2 separate regions of the Homo sapiens genome follow, and region 2 is linked to region 1. Evidence: promoter capture Hi-C in human tissues and cell types (Jung and others, 2019). All regions are on one chromosome and are shown on one strand. The core of a region is centred on a gene start or on the middle of the fragment in contact, and the rest is flanking DNA. Distances in the headings are between cores, read along the strand shown. Region 1 holds the start of NKX3-2 (NK3 homeobox 2). Region 2 overlaps RAB28 (RAB28, member RAS oncogene family).

Region 1 (4,149 bases), core at 961-3,460:
TATTCGGTGATTCAGCCCCAAAACATCTCTGCCTGCCTTTATGTTCGGATCTCACTCCATTATTTGTCAGCACCAAGTACTAAACCCACAAAGCGATCGCTGTACGGGACACCAAACCCATACCTGCCCGTCCCCTACCTTCCAGGCAACCAGTGTCAATCTCCTCACTATACATAATTCCCAACATCCCTGCCCGAAGTGAGGAGAACGGTAATTTAAATAATACAGCGGGGGAGGAGAGGACACACTGTTTTTGAAAGACTGTAAGCATTCTGCTGTTCCACTCTGCGTCCTTACACTTGCTGAGCACTGACACCAAATTTAAATGGCGTTCCTTCAAAACTGATGTAATTGTAAAGAGCTGTAAAGGGCAATGACCTCAAGTGGATGTTTTTTCCCAGGTACCCTACAAGGTTTGCACAAAGCAAGAAAGCATCATGTAACCGAAATGCTGAAAAGTATAGATGCTGCAAAACCTCATTCTGAGACTGAGAACTATGAATAGTCAGTGTATTTCCTTCTGCGGTGCAGAAAAAGAACAACCAAAAAGAAAGCAACAAGGGGAGATGTTATTTATTTTAATGACACCAAAACTACCAATCCTAGCAATTTAATAAATTAAAATCATAGTCCTTTAAATGTATTTAATGGTTCAAGTTTGTGTATTTGGTGTTAACTCTCTGGTAAAGTTTATGGAAAACAGTGAAGTACGTTAATTGAGCAAATTTTATATTAAAAAAGGAATAACACATTTTAAAATGTTTTTATATACCCACAATATTTGTGTTTCTTAGCTTGGTTCCTACTATTACATAATACAATGCATTTCTTATTTTTTAAAGAGCAAAAAGTGTTGTCACTTCTGGATCACTTTATGGTAATTCCTAGGTATACTTCTAAGCAAACAAACATATCTATTTATAATTTTATTCAACTCACAAGTAAGAGATATTTAAAAAAAACAAATTGAAAGTTTTTTTTTTCTTCCTGATGCAAAACTTAACAAACTCCAATTAAATTCAATATTGGTCTGCCAGGGAAACGACCATAAAATTTACAGAAATTCTCCCAAAGATGCCTTTCAATTCTTCTCCTGACTTTAGTTCTAACTATACCATTTTTTTATAATTCCTCTATAAAAATCGAATCAAATCAAAGACGACGAGGAAAGAAAAATATTTCTAGAGTGATCTTAATTAACTGATCATTTCAGCAAAGAGCATTAGCAATGAAGAAGCGGCGAAACTGTAGGGAGAAAAAAAAGGATGCATTTTGTTCTTCGTGTTTATAATCCTTCCTAGAGAACAGAAACTACGAGCATGATTTATGGAACTGCATTATCTTGGATTTTCTCCGCAGATTTGACTCAACTTAGTATCAGTGTTCTGTTAAAGCGCTGGAATAAGTGGATACATCTGCAGAGGTAAGAAACGTGGTTTGGGTCGGATGAGCCTCCTTGTTGCTGGAGGGTGCTTCGAGGACCAGGCTTAGGAGAGAAGGGGTTAAGTCAGACCCTGTCTTTAGCGGCGCAACGTGCCCAGTTTTGTCTGTTAAAGTCAACGTCGCCCAACTGGAGCCAGCCAATGGACGGCCGGGAGCGCCCGGGACAGCCCAGTGGAGGGGTGTGGCCTCAGGCTGTCACTCAGCAGTGAGGAATGACACCCGGGCGGGAGGGGGGTGGTACAGTGGAACGCAAGGGAAGGAAAGAGAAAAGAAACAGATAAAACCAGGGCAGGGGGTAAAAAAGTTCCCCGCGCCTCTCGGAATCCAGCGGCCGCGGCCGCGGCTACCGCCGCCGCCGCCGGGGGTGGGCTCCGGAAGAGCCTGCCCAGCAGGGAAGGGGAGGACGGGCCAGGAGCGAAATCCTGCAGGCGAGGAAGGGACAGACGCGCAAAGAAAAAGTGACTCGGGCTGTGCGCCCCGGCGGCGCTCGGGAGGGGACTGCTGCCACGGAGGGGCCCCCGCCAATCCTCCTTCACGTCCCCCGAGGGGGCAGACCCCAGCCCGCCCCTAAGGGCGAGAAGCGATGAGATAATCCAGCTGAGCTGCGAAAGGAGAGCGTCTGGCTCTGGATTCGGGGGGAGGGGGTCTCCGGGCGGGGTGGGCCTCTAAGGTGGGGGCGAGGGTCGGCGCTGATCCTGGGACGGAGTGGGGCGGGAGCTGCTGGGCCGCGCAGCAGTGGGCGGCGGCGGCCTCGCACACCCAGCTCACTCGCGCTGCGGCCGCCGGCGCTCTCTGTCCCGCTCGGAGCTGCTCGGCGCCCCAGCTGCCCGCCCCGCCGGCCGCTCCTGCCCGCGGCGCAGATGGCTGTGCGCGGCGCCAACACCTTGACGTCCTTCTCCATCCAGGCGATCCTCAACAAGAAAGAGGAGCGCGGCGGGCTGGCCGCGCCAGAGGGGCGCCCGGCGCCCGGGGGCACAGCGGCATCGGTGGCCGCGGCTCCCGCTGTCTGCTGTTGGCGGCTCTTTGGGGAGAGGGACGCGGGCGCGTTGGGGGGCGCCGAGGACTCTCTGCTGGCGTCTCCTGCCGGTACCAGAACAGCTGCGGGGCGGACTGCGGAGAGCCCGGAAGGCTGGGACTCGGACTCCGCGCTCAGCGAGGAGAACGAGAGCAGGCGGCGCTGCGCGGACGCGCGGGGGGCCAGCGGGGCCGGCCTTGCGGGGGGATCCTTGAGCCTCGGCCAGCCGGTCTGTGAGCTGGCCGCTTCCAAAGACCTAGAGGAGGAAGCCGCGGGCCGGAGCGACAGCGAGATGTCCGCCAGCGTCTCAGGTCTGCTGCGGCTTCGCGGGGATGGGGGCCGGGCTGAGGGGATGGACGCGGAGGGCAACCACGCCGAGTGGGGTGGTCGGCTTGAGCACCCTGCGCCCTGGGGCTCGGAGGCTGGCCAAATCCCGAAGTTCTGCGCTCTGGCGCGAGCTGCTCTATCACTTCGGGAACTGAGCCCGCGAGAGACCGGAGTAGCTCCTCAGAGCCCTACGTCCTGGGGTGAGGCCTGAGACATCCTGGGCCAATGTGCATTAGACTGGGTTGGGAGAACCGCTGCCCCTTGCGTTCGGGAGTTTTTGAGTTCGTCGCCAGTGCTTTCTGCCGTGTCTGTCCCCAAATCCCCAAAATCAGGGAAGCGGAAAAGTGAGGGGTTCAGAGACCTCAGGTAGCCAGTGACCTAGCTCTGGACCAGAGACCTGCCAGTTCAAGGTCCCAGGGCCGGGCCCCACAGTAGGTGGATAGGTGGTGAAGAACACCTCCGAGTGGGCCAGAGCTGAGAATCTGCAGAACTAGAGCTTTGGGGAAAGGGCTGGTTTGGCTTTCTCAGACCCCAGGTCTGGGAGAGCAGCCCTAGGCCGAAGATCCCGGATTGGGTCTTTAGTTCATCCTGGAGGCAGGAGAGAGGCCTCCTCAGCCGTGGCCTGTCCTGTCCTGTGGTCTGGAAGACCCGGGTGCCTGCCCTAGTTGGGTACAAGCTTCTGTAGGCCTCAAGCACAGGGGACCGCTGGACCTTTCTGCTGGAGTTCTTCGGAAGGGCGGGTACGAGACCGAGAAGCTGGTGTGGGATCAGGGTCCAAAAACTCGATGCAGGGGCAACCCTCCCTCTTTACTCTCCAGTCCATCCTCTCATCTAAGGCCTCGGCTCAGCCTGTTTCCATGTCTCTCACAGCAATCCCAGGCGGCTGAGGGTGAAAGATTCTAAATACCTTTGGCCCCAGGATCCGCCTCCACCTTCCCTTACCTGCACCAGACAAGTGTGTGCTGCGAGGACGCGCGCGTGTGTGCGTGTGAACTAAGTGTGGAGAGGCGCGTGAACCCAAGCAGAGAGACGGAAATGCAGTCTAGAATCCCAATGCTCAACGCTGAGAGCCGGGAGGGCTTTCGCGGATGCTCGGGTCGAGTGCCCCAAGTTACTGAGGGGAGCCTGGGGCCCAGAGAGGGTGGGGAGCTGGTCTCGACAACACAGCGTTGACACAGCGGCTGAGTCTGCCGCCCTCCCCAGAAGAGGCCTAGATGGGATACCCAGTGGGGCAAGAGTCTAAGACTGGTCTCCCGGGCCCAGGGCCTCCCAGACCTCCGCTCCGCTTGAGTGGGATCAAAGTGTATTTCCGCCCCACTCCCGTGACCCCTGCAGTTGAGGCCCGGCCTCACCTCGTCTGTGGC
Region 2 (4,043 bases), core at 1,070-3,569, 130 kb after region 1:
TGCCAGGCGGCTGCCTCACAGGTCGATCGCAGACTGCTGCACTGCTAGTGAGCAAGGCTCTATAGGCATGGGACCTGCCGAGCCATGTGCAGGATATAATCTCCTGATGTGCCGTTTGCTAAGACCATTGGAAAAGCGCAGTATTTGAGTGGGAGTGTCCCAATTTTCCAGGTACAGTCTGTCATGGCTTCCTTGGCTAGGAAAGGGAAATCCCCCGACCCCTTGTGTTTCCTGGGTGAAGTGATGCCCCGCCCTGCTTCGGCTTGCCATCCATGGGCTGCATCCACTGTCCTACCAGTCCCAATGAGATGAACCATGTACCTCTTTTGGAAATGCAGAAATCACCATCTTCTGTGTTGATCACACTGGGAGCTGCAGACTGGAGCTGTTTCTATTTGGCCATCTTGGAATGGAATCTTCGTTTGTGTGCATTTAATGAGTTTTGACAGATCATATACTTATATAATCTAAATTCTTATCAAGATATAGAATATTACCATTACTTCAGAAAGTTTGCATTCAGTCTTCATCCCCACCCCCATTCTTAATTATTTACTCCATGGGTTGGTTTTGCCTGTTCTAGAATTTCATATAAATGGAATCATCCATTATATTGTTCTGCCTTTAATTTTTCTCTGTATTTCTATTCTCTTAGAATTTATCTTTTAAACTTGGCTATGTTGTTAAACATACTGTGTCCGGAATTGGTGGGTTCTTGGTCTCACTGACTTCAAGAATGAAGCCGCGGACCCTCGCGGTGAGTGTTACAGTTCTTAAAGGCGGCGTGTCTGGAGTTTGTTCCTTCTGATGTTTGGATATATTCGGAGTTTCTTCCTTCTGGTGGGTTTGTGGTCTCGCTGGCTCAGGAGTGAAGCTGCAGACCTTCGCAGTGAGTGTTACAGCTCATAAAGGCAGTGTGGACCAAAAGAGTGAGCAGCAGCAAGATTTATTGCAAAGAGTGAAAGAACAAAGCTTCCACAGTGTGGAAGGGGACCTGAGCAGGTTGCTACTGCTGGCTTGGGCAGCCTGCTTTTATTTTCTTATCTGGCCCCACCCACATCCTGCTGATTGCTCCATTTTACAGAGAGCCGAGTCTGTTTTGACAGGGTGCTGATTGGTGTGTTTACAATCCCTGAGCTAGACACAAAGGTTCTCCAAGTCCCTAACAGAGTAGCTAGATACAGAGTGTCGATTGGTACATTCACAAACCCTGAGCCAGACACAAGGTGCTGATTGGTGTGTTTACAAACCTTGAGCTAGATACAGAGTGCCGATTGGTGTATTTACAATCCCCTAGCTAGACATAAAGGTTCTCCAAGTCCCCACCAGTCAGGAGCCCAGCTGGCTTCACCCAGTGGATCCTGCACTGGGGCTGCAGGTGGAGCTGCCTGCCAGTCCCATGCCGTGCGCCCGCACGCCTCAGCCTTTGCGTGGTCATTGGGACCGGGCGCCGTAGAGCAGGGGATGGTGCTCGTTGGGGAGGCTTGGGCCACACAGGAGCCCAGGGTGGCGTGGTTGGAGGGGGCGGGGGAGGCTCAGGCATGGCGGGCTGCAGGCAGCTAAGGCCCGGCAAGAAATCGAGCGCAGTGCCAGTGGGCCGGCACTGCTGGGGGACCCAGCACACCCTCTGCAGCCACTGGCCTGGGTGCTAAGCTCCTCATTGCCCGGGCCGGCAGGGCTGGCCGGGCGCTCTGAGTGCAGCCCGCTGAGCCCACACTCACCCTGAACTTGCACTGGCCTGCAAGCACCGCGCAGCCCCGGTTCCCGCCTGCGCCTCTCCCTCCACACCTCCCTGCAAGCTGAGGGAGCCGGCTCCGGCCTCAGCCAGCCCAGGAAGGGGCTCCAACAGCCCAGCGGCGGGCACTTCCTCAAGTGCCGCCAAAGTGGGAGCTCAGGCAGAGAGGCCCCGAGAGTGAGCAAGGGCTGTGAGGGCTGCCAGCATGCTGTCAACTCTCAATACTACTTACATATTTTCAGCATTTATATGTGATTGTGAATTGAGTCAGCATATTTTAAAAAGTCAGTCTCTGATAGTCTCTTTTGATGATGTCATTATATCTGCAATTAATGATGATTCTTCTTCCTTACCTATAGCTTACATCTTATTTTTATCTTACTGAATTGTCTAAAATTCTTGAACAGTTTTGAATAACTACTGTGATACCAAGAACCCTTAATACTGACTTTATAAGAATTGCCTTATTTAGTATTTTATCATTCAGTAGGAATTTTGTTTTTGGCTTCTAATTGGTATTCTTTATCAAATTAAGGAAGTTGGTTTTCATCCTGTCCTATTCATCTTCATATTAAGAACATGAGTTAAATTTTATTTAATGAAGGCATATATGATGTTTTCCTCATTTTGCTTATTCATAATGGATTACATAAAAAGATCTAATGTTAAACCAGCCTTGTAATTCCTAAATTAAACTTTTTTTGTCACAGCATATTTTCTTTTATATACTGCTAGATACAATTTAATGTTTTATGTACAATCTTTGCTTTTAAATGAGATTGGTCTGAAGTTTGTACCAGCCTTGTCTGGTTTTAGTACCAAGATTATGTCAGCTTCATAAATGAATTGGGAAATACCCCATATGTTTCTGTTTACTGTAGTTGGTTGAAGTGACATAGGAACTATATTTTCGGAAGGTATGGTATAACTTATTTATAAAATCATCAGGATTTTGGTACCTCTTTTGGAGTTAGATCTTTTACTACCTGTTATAGTTCCCCTTTGATACGAGAATTTGGTGTTGCTTCTTTTATTCCCAGTCAGTTTGGGTTATTTATATTTTCATGGATGATTTGATCTAGATTTTTGAATTATGGGTGCATGGCCAAATGACTTTCCCTTACAGCTTAAGTGTCTGATCTTCAATTAAACAATGTAGCTCTGTTCCCGTGGTAACCTGTTAAGGTAGTATGTGTCAATAACATTACTGCAGAACATTTTTATGATAAAAATGAAACCTGATTAGTTAATAACAGCTGGACTGGGAGGGACCAGAGATGAACTATAAATACTGTTAGAAACCGTAGCTTTTGGGCTTTTCTGAGTGCAGAGACTCGTGCGTGGCTTGTCATTTGGAGGGGCTCTGGAATCTTTGCTTATGGAATGTTACAAGAGAAATTGGCTCTTGTGGAACGGGGCTTCTGAGCTGACCATATACCCATGTGTCATTGTCATATGCTCATATTTGTGCTGTCACTTGAGGAGAAAATAGCTCCTAGACTGCTGTGTAATCTGTAGTTTCCCTCTGAGAAAGACTAGATGCTGGCCAGCTGGCAAGCTATAGTTCTTGTCTTCTATATTTTGGAATAGACTTATGCCAAATGTGGCCTGTGGTCATTTTTGTGGGTCTGAACATTTTAGCACAAGTTTATTGGAATAAAGTTATACTTGGCATTCTCTGTCTTTAAAAATCCCTTCCTCATCTGGGATTATATCCCCTTTTTTCCATTCCTAATTTATAAAAAAACTATCTCTTCTTTTCTTATTTATTACTATCTTTTGTTTTTATACATCATGCATAATTTTTAAAACATTCATTTTCTCTCTTAAAACTTTATGCTTTTTCTCTGCGGGTTCATTAATTTTGGGTTCATTTTCTCTCTTAAAACTTTATGCTTTTTTCTCTGCGGGTACTATTAAATAGTGTGACAAGAGCCGAATAAAGAGTAGTCTTCTTTTTACAAAGAAGGGCTGCTAGGATCTTTATTCCTTGAGTTACTGCATGTGCAGAAATATTCTTGGTTTTAAGTTTAAATAACATACTGGCTGGACAGCAGATTAGTTTGCCACACTTTATTTCCTTCAGAAGTCTGTGTCACCATGCTGTTTTTCAGTATTGAATTTCAAAAAGTCTAAGGAAAGTTTGATTTTTTAATATTATAATTAATGACTTAAATTTTTTGTCAGTATGTCCCAAAGATTCTTTCTTAGATTTCAAGATAAGATACATTGATATGTATTGATTATTCTGTATCTGTTTATTGGGGTGGAGAGATTGATGGATAACATATACCTTTCAAACAAATAG

Evidence for each region. Contacts are between HindIII fragments. The study calls those that stand out against the background at their distance.
Region 2: a contact is called between a fragment that was not itself captured here and the fragment with the promoter of NKX3-2 in region 1, in 1 of the 25 tissues and cell types used here (mesendoderm cells).

What each region holds. Positions count from the first base shown.
Region 1 is chr4:13,542,569-13,546,717 of GRCh38, reverse strand. NKX3-2 (NK3 homeobox 2) reads left to right here and starts at 2,210. Exons shown (of 2, transcript NM_001189.4): 1 at 2,210-2,769. The coding sequence starts at 2,304. LINC01096 (long intergenic non-protein coding RNA 1096) reads left to right here. Exons shown (of 1, transcript NR_015450.1): 1 at 1-642. RefSeq lists an enhancer at 1-84. The HindIII fragment of the contact is 14,287 bases long and covers 1-4,149 here.
Region 2 is chr4:13,413,136-13,417,178 of GRCh38, reverse strand. All of the region lies in intron 4 of RAB28 (RAB28, member RAS oncogene family), which reads left to right. Among named protein-coding and RNA genes, the nearest start is that of RAB28, 69 kb to the left of the region's middle. RefSeq lists an enhancer at 1,087-1,597. The HindIII fragment of the contact is 4,022 bases long and covers 309-4,043 here.